Linked DNA regions of Homo sapiens: region 2 is linked to region 1. Evidence: promoter capture Hi-C in 16 types of primary human blood cells and fetal thymus (Javierre and others, 2016). All regions are on one chromosome and are shown on one strand. The core of a region is centred on a gene start or on the middle of the fragment in contact, and the rest is flanking DNA. Distances in the headings are between cores, read along the strand shown. Region 1 holds the start of CRYBG3 (crystallin beta-gamma domain containing 3). Region 2 has its middle 16 kb from the start of GABRR3.

Region 1 (6,924 bases), core at 3,755-6,254:
TTTTAAACCATTTGCAAGAAATCAAACTGAGAACAAAGTACCCATAGTAAGAAAGCTCTAGCTTCTGGGACATGTATACTATAAAACGTCACAATAAGATAAAAAGGAAACCAGTTCACAGCCACTTTTTCTGTTTTGTTTGTTTTGCTCCAAAGCTTTGTTTCATAAAGCCCTAAGAAACAAAACTTACAACTAACAGTAATATAATGCAGTCTAGAAATTTATAAATAATCATTCTTTATGGAATACTTTTAAAATTGTATATCAGAAGTGCATATTACAGTGCAGAGTTTATGAAGTCAGATGAAATATTTTGGGAAAACAATATAGAGGATGAATTTCTCATCTAATAGTAAATTATTATTCTGAGCCATTATCTACGTCATGCTTATGAAGCTCCATTAATAAAACTTAATATCTTACATATGACCTTATATTTTAGATAGCATTTGACTTAGATAAAAGACACATCACACTGAATTGGTGTGAACAACTATTTTGGAACACATGTTATAATCAGTGTTTGTCAAAGACATGCTACCCCTATTTATACATTTTTAAAAGTACGTTTCAATATTAGCAAATTTTGTGCTGTTTGAAAGCTATATATTTAATTTTTAATGTTAATGTTATATTTTTGTAAAGGACTAATTTCTCTTTGAAGTATCATCATATCAAAGGGAGAAAAGTGTAAATGTAGTTTAGGTCAGACTAACACATTTTACTTAATTTAAGCATTAAAAGATGTGTGTTCGAAAGATCTCAATCTCCACATGTTCCGCAAACAAAAACCAGACAAACAATACAATAAAACATCATGCATCTCATAGAAGTTGGAATAACCAATTACTTAAAAATTTTACCATCTGTTCTCATTGAAGCAGCAAGACAGGCATTTCCCCATGTTACAAACCATGATAATTAGAAAGTAACAATGAGAAATGCTAACATCATTTTTCCCCTTTTTTATTTGCTGTGGGAGTTCTTAATGAAAATTTGAGCATATAAACAAAGGAAAAGAGAAGATATTCCCCCCACCCCACCTCCTAATTGAGTGCTTATATTCAGTAATAGCTTTTTGCTGCCCTGGGCCGCATGACACTGCCTCATTTGGCCACGCACAGCTATTATTCTAGGAGGCAGCTAGTGAAGTGCCCCAATCCATCTGCTTGCTTTTTCATGGGCTGGTGCTTTCCTTGATGTTGACAGCTGTCTTAATATTCCTGGGCCACCTGCCACACAGTAAATACTGTGCTCTAAGATATATACAGAAGCTTATTCCCTGGTGGACTTTTCAGAACAAAAACGCTTAGCATTACTAAACTACTCTTGCAGTTTAAATGCTTCAAGGATCAACACTTTCATTCTATTCTCATACCTTTGAGAATGGTACTTACGTTGTGGGAATGGCAATTCAGTTACAGTGTGATGAACTTCAGGATTTCTCATATATCACACAAGTTATTGAATTACAGTATTATAGGTGGAAATCAGGTGCTAAAAGGAGGCAGAGAAGAAGAGAGCATATTAACAGTTATCTCCTCTAGTGAGCCTTCCAGGAACCCTTCAGATTAAGTTGGGGATCCGTCCTATGTTTCCCATCTTACCCCATTTGCTCATCTTGCCCAATTAAACTTGCTCCTTGATGTTAAGCATTTGGTCTTATCTATCACCGTATCTCTATGTCTAAGAATGAGCATGTATCTGACACATAGTATGCACTAGAGGACATATCCAGGTTTTGTGGGATCTGAAGTTTTTACAATTTGGAGGGTCCTCTTTAAAGAAAAAGGATTTAAAAGAAAATTAGATATAAAAATGAATATATTGAATGAAAACATAAACCATGCAAATTACTAATTTTAAAAGGTTGACTAGAAAAACAATTTGTTTTCTTACTAAATGCCTTGCACAATCACTTTTTTTCCTATATTTTTGGCAGTGTACTCTTCAATAGCCTTTCATATGACAATAATTTAGTAATATTATTTTCCATAATAATGAAAAGATAATGCAATCTTTCCTCTAGTTCTGTTTTTCTTATTGATAGAAAGGCTGTGTAAACATGCAGTACTACACACACACACACAAAGCTTGTGGTACTGCTACAGGTTTGTACCCTACAAACAAGAATTCTGATAAATTCTATTTTACATGGTTTACATCAACAAGAAAAAATGTTTTGTGTTTACAGTTATAAAAATTATTTTGGGTGGCTGAGACGGGTGGATTACCTGAGGTCAGGAGTTCGAGACCAGCCTGACCAATATGGTCAAACCCCGTCTCTACTGAAAATACAAAAATTAGCTGGGCATGGTGGTGGGCGCCTGTAGTCCCAGCCACTCTGGAGGCTGAGACAGGAGAATTGCTTGAACCCAGGAGGCGGAGGTTTCAGTGAGTTGAAATTGCACCACTGCACCCCAGCCAAGGTGACAGCGCCAGACTCTGTCTCAAAAAAAAAATTAAATATACTGCATTATTGAATATATTATTGCTATGAGAGAAATTACATCAATCGGAGGCAATCCTTCCTGTTGAAACTTTGTCTTCTGATGCCTGGAATAATTTTCCACATGACACCTGATGCTGCTTTACCTTTCAAATCTTGTCTCACCTCTATTACCCACATATTTTCAGTGTCAGAGACCACAGAATATATCTCCTCTGGCTCTGCATCTTGGGTGTAATACTTGGTGAGCTGCGCTACAAACAAATTGGAATTTAAGAAATAACTATACTTTGGAGAGGCTGGAAACCACATAAATATATTCCACTAAGTCCAAACTAAATATATTCCCAACTGAAATTCCCTAGCAGATTCCCAAATGCTCTTGATAACTCTAAGTGGAAAAGAAAATCTAAGTGGACATCTAAGTGGAAAAAAAAAGAGATTGTGGTCTTAATCACATTAAAACATTTACTTTTGTAAATTTGATAAAACTGGCCATGGATCCCATTGCTGAGTTCACACTGGAAGAGACTGTGCCAGCAGGGAGCCAAGAAACTTGAGCCTCATCGGCTTCACTGTAGATGTGCTTCTACTGCAGGCACTCACTAAACGTCGGGGAATAACTGGATCAGTGAATTAATGACACTGTGCTAAATTAGTATCTCTAAGATCCTTACAGCTCTAAAATTTGACATTTTTACAGGCTTCCTAATGCAATCTTAGAATTTAGTATTTAGAAATTTGTTCATATGAGTTCAGGTTATAACAATGTAGGACATATAGAAAACTAATAAGTGCTCAGAAAGCAAATGAAGGAAAATTCAATGGTCATTGTTTTATGACTTTAAGCTATTTTGTCATAGACGCAATTTGTCTTAGTGTAAACATGGCATTATTTGTATTTACCATTCACTTAAGTGCTTTGCTGTGCTACCGAGTGGAGATCAGAGTATTGTTAGATATATTATTAGTTAAAACCATAATTCATTAATTAAATCCTATTGACTCCCCCCCATTTTTATTCCAAGAAAAACTTCCTGAACGAAGTACCCTCTGGGTAGGCACTGGGGCCTGGTTTGATCACAGAACAAGTCAGGGACAAATGTGATAGTCATTCAATAATACGTTGGGAAGACAAATTATCATTTGGGCCTTTTAGCTGGAAGAAACAGTTTGCTTTATTACTCTCTTTGGGCTTTTTGGTAAGTGGGTCTTCAGTGGAGATTCTCTTATAAAATAATAAAGCTAGAATTGGGAACTTGTCTTATTCTAGTCTATTATCTTAGTCTTTTTCTATTTTCTCAGACTAGGCTCACAGAGAAATAGGAAAAATTTACCAAAGAGTAAAAAAGGATTAATCTTGAGGGATAGACTGAGATGAACCCGATTGATGGAAATCGGGCTGACTGAACTTTAATGGGTTAAATCCTGCCAGAACAAATGAGAATGAGTGTCTTGGCTCTATTGCAGTTAGTAGGAGCTGGAGGGCTTCTGGGAGGCAGCGTGGGGAGGCAGGGAGGCTCAATAGCCTCCAGCAGGTGCTGAAAGGACTTGGGGCTTATAGGTATGCAATCTACTTATGAGCAACCTTCTCCTCCAGCACCCGAAAGCCAGAGGGGAGATTACTCCAAGGCTCCCCTCTGCTGTGGACATTTCATTTTTATCTCATTTACTTGTATACATTTTTTAATGAACAAAAGCCATATCACTTCCTTGACGTCTACTCCAGGGGCAGCTTGCCTTCAAACAAAAACAAAACACTTGGGGTGAATGGGCCTCTCAGTATCTCCTGTACTAGCTGCTATAGGGTATGAAAAACCAAGAAAAATCCATACCACTGTACTTAGACTTAAAACAAGTCTTAAGCACCCTTTGGTTCCCAGATTTCAGTGGCATCTGTGTAACGACTGCAAAATATGTTGCAGCATTGACAAGCTTGAAATCATACTTTTTGATCAGTGCCGTTTTTGAAAGAGTTCGCAGGGAAGTATGGCGTGTGAAAAGTCTGAAGCACAGCGCGGTTAGGAAAAGTCACACCACAGAAAGCCAGCAGAACGCGCCGGGAGGTGGTGACCGCCTGACAGGTACCCCCTTCTCCCTCCCGCCGCCCGGTTCTGTGCTAACGCGACTTTCGCCCTCAGGGTTGGAGCTGTATTTGCGGTAGCTGTTTCTTAGCTCCCAGCAAGTCCGGGGCGCCCCGGTACTGCAGTTTGCCAAGTGTTTTCACAAACCTTAGTTCATAAACCTCTTTCAAAAGCCCGAAGAAAACCGTTTCTGTGCTCTGACTGTAGAATAGAAAACACAACGGTCACAGAAAGTAATTGAAGGCAAAGCCCAACAGGCTGCAGCCTGAACTTGTTTGAGCCGTAAGCCCGAGCCTAGCGTCGCACGCTGGGCGACTCCCCTCAGGCTCTCAGGCCGGCGCCTTCGGGGGACCACGTAGCGCCCCAGCGGTGGCGGCTGCGCCCGGCTCAGGGCGGTGCCGCGGCCACTGGCTCCTCCTCGGGGTGGGGCGGGCCGCGCCGGGCGAGGGCGGGAGGAGGAGCAGCCGCAGCGGCGTGAGGAGCTGCCGCGCGAGGAGCGCGTCGCGTCCGCACTTCTCCTGCCCGAGAGAGACTGAGCCGCGCTGGCAGCTCGCGTCGAGTCGGTCTGCCCTAGCCGCATCCCGCGGCGCCCGGTCGGGCTCCGGGCACCAGGCAACACCTAGGCCGTTCCCTTCAGACAGCCCCGGGCCAGCGGCCCCCTCGGGAAATGTCCAGCGGCCGCAGAAGGGGCAGCGCCCCCTGGCACAGCTTCTCCCGGTTCTTCGCTCCCCGAAGTCCTTCCCGGGACAAGGAAGAGGAAGAGGAGGAGAGGCCGGGGACGAGCCCGCCTCCAGCTCCAGGCCGGTCCGCTGCCAGGTGGGAGTCGAGGAGGGGGTCGCGGGGGGGCCCTGCACATATTCGCGGGATGAAGGCTCCCGGCCTGACCGCCGGCAGCGGGCCGCTCTTGGGCCAGGCTGCAGTTCGCTCGCCACTTTCTGTTCTCCTTCCTCCATTGCTAAAGTTTCCTCCTCCTTGCCCCGTTCCCGTGCCGCACTACTCGCCTCTCCTCTGCAGGTTAAATCGGGGTGAAGTTCTTGCCCGGCAGCCGGACGCATATCCCCCGATCCCCGCCTGGCTCCGCGCTCTTCCTTTCCCACTTTCCCCTGCCCGGACGTGATTGGGTTCCCGTTCCACACACGCTCTACTCTCCAAGTTCTGTGGCAAAAGCGATTTCCCCGGCGTCCCGCCTGCAGTAATGGGAAACACTTGTGAGCCGAGCGGAGCCGTCGGCCAGGGGAATTGGGGGCGCGATCCCAGCACCACTTGTGTGGGAGGAGATCGGGGCAAAAGTGGAAAAGGTAAAGCTTTGGGGCGTCACCCCCTCAGCTGGTATTTTTGCCATCTTATTTAAATTTTCTCAAAATGATTTTTAAAAGGAATTGTGATAATGCGTTCCCAAGACTTTCACCAAAATGGACTGGACATGTAAATGACGCCACCCTTCTTTATTTCTCATCTCTCCTAGAAACATCTGCCTCAAGTTCCCAAACAGATTCTGGAAATCAGGTTTCCAGCTGTCTTGGTTTCAGTAATCAAAATGTACCCTTTCTCTGTAATATTTTTATCTTTCCTTCACTTTCCCATGTTCAAAAATCAAAAAATTTTAGACATGCCTCATTTAAATGCCTGTTTCTGAGTCTTTTCATCCCCCCGAAGAAAGAGGGGTTAAGTAAAACGCAGCTCGCTTTCTTAAACTTATGAGAGGCTTACACTGTCTTCTCCCGAGATTGCACTAGAATGACCATTGTCATTGGAAGGACACACTCCAGAAAACCGTGTTTACTTCGGACTCAAGATTTCCTGGTGGGCTTAAAAAAAATGGATAGGAAACAGAACTGAGAGTGAGCCAATTCCATTAGTATTCAGATTTTGTGATGTGATTTTAGTCGTTTGTGTGTTCCTCGGTTTCCCCGCTTGTGAAACATTTTCATTATGACCGTCTGTTAATAACATGCCACATGTTTCCAAGAAAGCTCCTACGATAATTGAGTGGTTATTCTCCTGGGACGTTTCAGCTATTATTGCTCTGACTGTTGAGAGTTTAAAATTCAAAGTTACACAGAAGTTAAAAATAGTTTTTAAGTCTGACAGATCTCATCCAGGGTGTCAGCTAGTTCTGTTGGTGTGGGCAGACAGCCTGTGGTGCCTGCCACCGCCGTAACAGCACTAACAGTCTTGGATAATATGAACGCAGTCTGCAAGGAAATCCCAAGTAGGCGCAGCAAAAGTTGGGAACTTGAGAGTCAGTGTTAGAAAGGAGTAAGCAGGTCAAATTCAGGCTCATGTCAGTAATGGCCTGAAATCCTGCTTGCCTCTCTGCCCTATTTTGGCTTTTTAAGGCACTTCTCAATTCTAATTTCTTTACTGACTGGAGCTGACCCCTCCAGCAAC
Region 2 (7,016 bases), core at 3,854-6,353, 230 kb after region 1:
TTTCAACAGCTTTGGGAAGATGGAAGGGAGGTAGTGTTTCCTTCCTTTACAAGGGAGGCAGCCTAGAGAAGTAGAAAAACACAAGATTTCAAATCCGAAGCCTTGTTATTTTACCTAAGTCTCAACTGAAGCTAAAAGAGACCACAATAGACTCCAGTAAAACTGCTAGTGCTAAAAGACAAAAAAAAGTGAGTGTTTGATTCTAATTTAAGTGGGGACTGCTTTAACTTCTTCCATGTAAAATGGGGATAATAATATGCACTCATTTGTATGTTGAGCTAATCAAGTGATTCAATATATGTGAAAGTATTAATTCATTACAGAGTGTACTTTCAAATCAATGTATAAACACAAGTTTTTATGTTTATGAGCAAGTTAAGATCTGAGTTTCCCAAAGTTACATAACCAACAAATGTTCAAGCCAATGGGAGAATCACTGTCATAAACTGCATTGTCACATTTAGCCAATATGACCACTTCAGAATTATTTTCATTATATCATCGTAACGTGAGAAACGTCAGGAGCTCCAATACTATTGAGAAACTAAGATATTTTACATGCATAAATGTTGTTGAAAGTTAAATGTAAAAGTGCAATAAATAGATTATAATAATTTTTAATAAAGAAATACATATATATTTTAAAAATAGCCTCAGGAAATGTAAAAAACATTTATCTGTAAAATTCTTCTATAGGAGAAAGGCTTCAAAAAGTAGCATTGCCTAAAATCAATGTTTTTACGGTAAGGAATAATTTGACCATTAAGGATAAAAAAAAAATTTCTACAAAGTTTGAGAAACAGGAATCATAAATCAGATAAAATTTGAAGCAATTTGCAACTTAATTGCTTCATCTCTTTCAAAGAAGACTCCAGACCACAGTCTACTATATAATACATATGAAGAAATATTCGTTGGCTGAAGGATTAAGCAATTCCAAATAATCTTTCCTTAATACTATGTTAACATTTTGACTACATATAAGAAGGAAGTTGAGCTTTGGGGGACTTGGAGAAGCTGCTGTGAACTTCTGGCAAGGTCAAGGAAATCTAAACAATATTTAGACATTTGTTTTAAATTTCTATTTCTTCTTTTTATGATAAATTTGAAAACATTTTGCCACATTTTTTCTCTTTTTGTTGTTGTGTTAAGGCATGCCAGCTAAAAAATGTAAAGCACGTTATAGAATTTTAAAGTTACCGTTTAAACTCTGCAATGCCATAATTGATTCTGGCAAGGAACATCAAATGATGTTAAAAATCTTAGCTAAAAAATTGATAGGTCAAATGGTATTTCTGGTTCTAGATCCTTGAGGAATCGCCACACTGTCTTCCACAATGGTTGAACTAGTTTACAGTCCCACCACCCGGGCACACGTATACCTATGTAACAAACCTGCATGTTCTGCACACGTATTCCAGAACATAAAGTAAAATAAAAAAAAGAGAAGGTTCTTGAGCTTTGCATTAAAGACATCTAGTTGAACACATATACACATATTTTGTCTGTTCTCTCAAGGTAACAACAACAAAAAAGTATAAACCTACAACAACAAGGAGACTGGGAGGAGAGAGGAGTGTGAGAGGGAGGAAGGAGAGAGAAAAAAATGATGGGGACCTGGATATTCTCAAAGTGCCAAAGTATAATGTAATTAACTACTTGCTATATGTAAGGGACAAATCATAACGCTACAGTAGGAAGATCTGGCTGTTACTGCAATAAACCAGGGATTGGGTTTAGCCTCACTGTTAGTGAGACAGACAGACATTATGTGGTTCCTGATGCAAGGCACTGTGAAGGAATGGCATCTTCTATGTAGCATATTGTTAAAAAATGCTTAATCAAGCCTTTGAATATGATTTTCACTAGGAAAAGAAAAATACAGGAATTAGGAAAACAAGTTAAAGAATGCATATTAATCCAGAATGGGAAACATTTCACCAGACAATTTTATAATTGGCCCAGTCTCTCCAAAATATCATTTTCATTAAAAATTAAAAAAGAAAAGGAAGAGGAAAGAAATGAGACTGTTCTGGGTCAAAAGAGTCTTGATAGAGACAACAAATGCAATGTGATGCTGTAAAAGATAAGAAACAAATGGAGAAATTTGAATATATACTAGTTATAAGATAGTGTTGAGAGAATACTGTTAATTTTGTCAGATGTCAGTATGGTACCGTGGTTAGGAAGGAAAATGTCATTTTTGAAAAGATGCAGCCTGGAGTGTTTAGTTGTGAAATGTCACGATGTCTGTTATTTTCATTAAAATGTTAAATGTTTCTCTTTAAAACATGCTATACCTATAGTTTTTGTCGTTCTAGAAGATGTGCCTCATTTGCTTAACCTAAATCACTATTTTCTGGTCTCCATGACAACTTGCAGATGGCTTGAGTTGGTTGTAAAAGTTATTTTGTGTACAGGGTTAAGTTGTTATTGTCAAGAATTTGGCAAATCAACAGCACATATCTTGATTTTCTCACTCAGAATGCGATTCTCTTACAAAACAGCGTTGCTGCTTTCCTTGTGAATAATTAAAATAAATAACAGAAATAACTGTCTGGGCACAGTGGCGCATGCCTCTAGTCCCAGCACTTTGGGAGGCCGAGACGGTGGGGGATCACCAGAGGTCAGGAGTTCGAGACCAGCCTGGCCAACATGATGAAATGCTATCTCTACTAAAAGTACAAAAATTAGCCTTGGGTGGTGGCTCACACCTGTGGTCCTAGCTACTCAGGAGGCTGAGGCAGGGGAATTGCTTGAACCGAGTAAGCCGAGGTTGCAGTGAGCTGAGATTGCACCACTGCACTCCAGCCTGGGAGACAGAGTGAAATAATTAAAGTCACCACCATTTAATGATTCCTTACCTATCTATCAAGTACAGGGGTGAGGGCTTGACATTCATCTTCTCATTTGATTCTTGCAACAACTTTGTAAGTGCACATTATTAACTTTATTTCACAAGTGAGGAAACCAAGGTTTAGACATTTTAAGTTATTTGACCAAAGTCTCAGAAGCAAAGCCACCAAAACTGCCTTTTCCAAAGTCTGTGCTCTTAATCAGCTTTGCTATTTTTCCTTCCCCATGTCTATAAACAGACGCTCCAATTTTAGTGAATATACCCACAGTGAACCTTGATGACGTTAAACATGGTTTCAATTGTTAAAGTAACTTTCTGATAAATTGCAATATCTGGCATGGAACATGAACTTCCTTTTTTTTTAAAAAAAAAATTATGTTGGCTTTTTTTTTTTACACATTTGCTTTTCCAGATAAATTAGAATTTTCTAGACAAATTACCTCCGTATGATTTTGTATAAAATTATATGAAATTTATGTTTATTTGTGAAAGTTAAGTTTTAATAGATTGAGCTTTCCTATTCAGCCACAATTATGGAATTTTATACATTATGCCGCTTACATATGGGAAAATGCTCAACATCACTAATTATGGGGGAAATGCAAATCAAAACCACAATGCGATACCACCTCACTCCTGCAAGAATAAAGAAAAAAAAATTAATGTTGACGTGGATGTGGTGAAAAGAGAACACTTTTACACTGTTGATGGGAATGCAAACTAATGCAACCACTATGGAAAACAGCGTGAAAATTCCTTAAAAAATTAAAAGTAGGCCGGGCGCGGTGGCTCATGCCTGTAATCCCAGCACTTTTGGAGGTCTAGTGGGGTGGATCACGAGGTCAAGAGATCGAGACCATCCTGGCCAACATGGTGAAACCCTGTCTCCACTAAAAATACAAAAAATTAGCCGGGCGTGGTAGTGGGCGCCTGTAGTCCCAGGTACTCGGGAAGCTGAGGCGGCGTCAACCCAGGAGGCGGAGCTTGCAGAGAGCCGAGATCGCACCACTGCACTCCAGCCTGGGCGACAGAGCAAGACTCCGTCTCAAAAAAAAAAAAAAAAATTAAAAGTAGATCTACCATTTGATCCAGCAATCCCACTGCTAGGTATCTACCCAGAGGAAAAGAAGCCATTATATGAAAAAGATACTTGCACACACATGTTTATAGTAGCACAATTTGCAGGTGCAAAAATGTGGAACCAGCCCAAATGCCCATCAATCAACAAGTGGATAAAGAAAATGTGAGATAGATAGATAGATATAACGGAATACTACTCAGCCATAAGAAAGAATGAAAGAATGGCATTTGCAGCAACCTGGATGGAATTGCAGACTAATATTCTAGGTGAAGTAACTCAGGAATGGAAAACCAAACATTGTATGGTCTCACTTATATGAGGGAGCTAAGCTATGAGGACACAAAGGCATAAGAACGATACATTGGACTTTGGGGACTCGGTGGAAAGTGTTGGTGGTGGCGAGGGATAAAAGACTACACCTCGGGTACAGGTTACAGGCTACACTGCTTGTGTGATGGGTGCACCAAAATCTCAGAAATCACCACTAAAGAACTTATTCATATAACCAAACACCAACTGTTCCCCAAAACCTTTGGAAATAAAAAAAATTAAAAATTAAAAATCCCAATCGTTCTATGTATTTTTACTGTTGTTTTTCACTAACTCTAAAACTTTTCCTTAAATTTTCCATTATTGTGCCTTAATTTTGAGTTAACAAAGCAGAAGCTTTGAGAAAACGAGTTTCAGGCCTGCACAGACTTGGGAAGTGAAGACTTTAGCTACAGTTATACAGAATTGGTGACTAGTTAATAGAAATAAAAATATGTCACGTTGTAACACCTACTGGCTGGCCTTGTCATTAAACCTTAAGAGTTGTAAATCTAATACTTATAAATGTTCCCTTGAATGGTTGTATACTTAGGCCTACTGTTTTATAAGTAGGTAGTTCCTGCTTTAGATCAACAAGGCAGGGATTTGAATATGTAAAACATATTTTATGTCCGGAATTATGCAAAGTTTGTCATTAAAGACATGTATTGATGATACAGACATATTTTTTCACCCTGTGTTTCCACAGGATCTCGTTTAGTTTCCTTTCCATTTACTTTCCAGGCTTGTAAAACTCATGGATACACTTTTAGCTTGAGGCTTTTTCTGCATTGCCTTACCTATGTTTATGTTAGTCATTGCCTATTAATTTGGTTAATCCTTTCTCCCCATTTAATTTGTTATTTAAATAAAATTTATAATTTACTATTTAACTTATCACTTAAATTGAATCCAGATATTCAAAACACTGGCCATTCTTTCTACTATGATGTTTTTGTAATGTTTTATTCCACCTTGACTGTGATAGTCCCGTTTGTAATACCAAGAGGATCAGATCATTTTTTGTTCTAGAAAGATAAAAAAGTTCCTGAAAGAATGAGAAAATACACTTTTGAACCCAAAACAAAGTCTCATTTTCTAAGATTTTGGCATAAAATATACCGTGTACCTTTTGCTCTTAAAACACTTCGTTGTTAATACATTCAATTTTAAGGTACTTATGAGTGGCAGGCTATGGGACTAGTTAGTTCTTGTCTAGAATCTCCTCTATAACCCTCAAGAAATAATATGTATTTTAAAAAAATCTTACCATTTTTTCAGTGTACAATATACAATTTCTTACATTGATCCATTTATTAACTCATTAGTGATTTTGTGGTTTTCACTGCTTTTATACAAGCTTTTGCTTTTATGATCATCATAGTTTCTTATACCCAAGTCCTCTTTGCCTTACTGAAAAAGAATTCTGAGAAGGGCAGAAGCAAAAGCTTCCTCATGTGCAGTGCCCACCTGCTCTCTGTCTCTTTGTTCTATAGCAGTGTCTTCTTCATGTATGGGTGCCCCAGGTCTGGCCCAGATTAACAGTGGAATGAAATGTATTTTCCGTTCTACATGATTATAATTCCTCTGCAGACTCCTTTATTTACAGTATGAAAAACAAAGAAGTTTTAGGTACACTTAGAACAATGATAAAGAAATATTTTTGGAGAACACTTTCATAATTCTTTCCATTTCCTTTCTGTTAAAACAAATCGTAATAATTGTTTCTGTGTTTTACACATAGTAGGGACACAATATGTTAAGTGAATGAATAAAAAAATTTAGACTAAATATTCTTGTCTTAGTTATAAGTTATTCTGATCATTAAAATAGTTAATGAGCATTTAAGGACAAACACCACATTTTTGTTGTTGTTTTAAGTACATACTCAAGGATGAAGTTCAAACTGAAATTATAATGCCACATTACTGTTTTTGTAACATGAATGAAACACAAGAGTTCATTCATTTTACAAAGACTTAGTAACAAGTTTTTGTAACATGAATGAACTACATGAAATACAGACATACATGTTTTAGAACTTACTTGCAGTTATTTAAAGGAAGACCCCACCTATATAATTTAAAAAGTGTTCAAAGTATTCATGCACTTCTAAATAATTCTTGAACAAGGCATTTTTCAAACTTTCTCTTTAGCAGATATTTATAATAATATATCAGAATGTTAATAAAAATAATACTGTTAGGCCAAATATGACAACACATATCCTCTTAAAACATTTAAAACTAAGATTTCCATTTGGTTTAAAAGCAATTTTGAAAAGTAACATGTTTCATTGCCTCCATTGAAAGATATGTAAATGTAACAACAAAAATACTAAAAGTAATTCAAATTTCTGCAATATAGTTAGAAAATTTCTGAGTTCTTCTAAAACTTTTACTTTTTAATTTATTGAGTAGTCCTACTGAGCACTGCATTCCTGACACACATATCCTACCTGAATAGTGTTTTCTGGCATTGACACCTGCCTGAACCAGCAGGTGTGCTTGATCAACTGTCAGTTAAATATATTAAGCTAATTTTTTTTCTTACCTACATTGTGTATATATTCTATCTGGCCCTTTCATGAGTAGGCAAACTTTGACCTCCTTACTTTTATTACTTAGACTCTTGAGAATACTCAAGAGAGTATTCTCTTGAGAAAATACTCAAGAAAGATTTTTCCATATGCATAATACATTGCTTTTACCCTGGCTTTAAAAAAAAGTGAAGAAATGGCAGTTTGTTGAATGATATAACCCAAAGCCC

Evidence for each region. The method cuts DNA at HindIII sites, captures the fragments that hold promoters and counts their contacts. A CHiCAGO score of 5 or more calls a contact.
Region 2: a contact is called between a fragment that was not itself captured here and the fragment with the promoter of CRYBG3 in region 1, in 2 of 17 cell types (non-activated CD4 T cells and naive CD4 T cells). The highest score is 5.4, in non-activated CD4 T cells.

Annotation. Positions count from the first base shown.
Region 1 is chr3:97,817,007-97,823,930 of GRCh38, forward strand. It overlaps CRYBG3 (crystallin beta-gamma domain containing 3), which reads left to right and starts at 5,005. Exons shown (of 22, transcript NM_153605.4): 1 at 5,005-5,349. The coding sequence starts at 5,201. LOC101929298 (a long non-coding RNA gene) reads right to left here and starts at 4,770. Exons shown (of 3, transcript XR_427389.3): 1 at 4,681-4,770; 2 at 1,398-1,497. RefSeq lists a silencer at 4,782-5,151. The HindIII fragment of the contact is 1,453 bases long and covers 4,383-5,835 here.
Region 2 is chr3:98,047,836-98,054,851 of GRCh38, forward strand. It overlaps the pseudogene OR5BM1P. Among named protein-coding and RNA genes, the nearest start is that of GABRR3, 16 kb to the left of the region's middle. The HindIII fragment of the contact is 1,003 bases long and covers 4,603-5,605 here.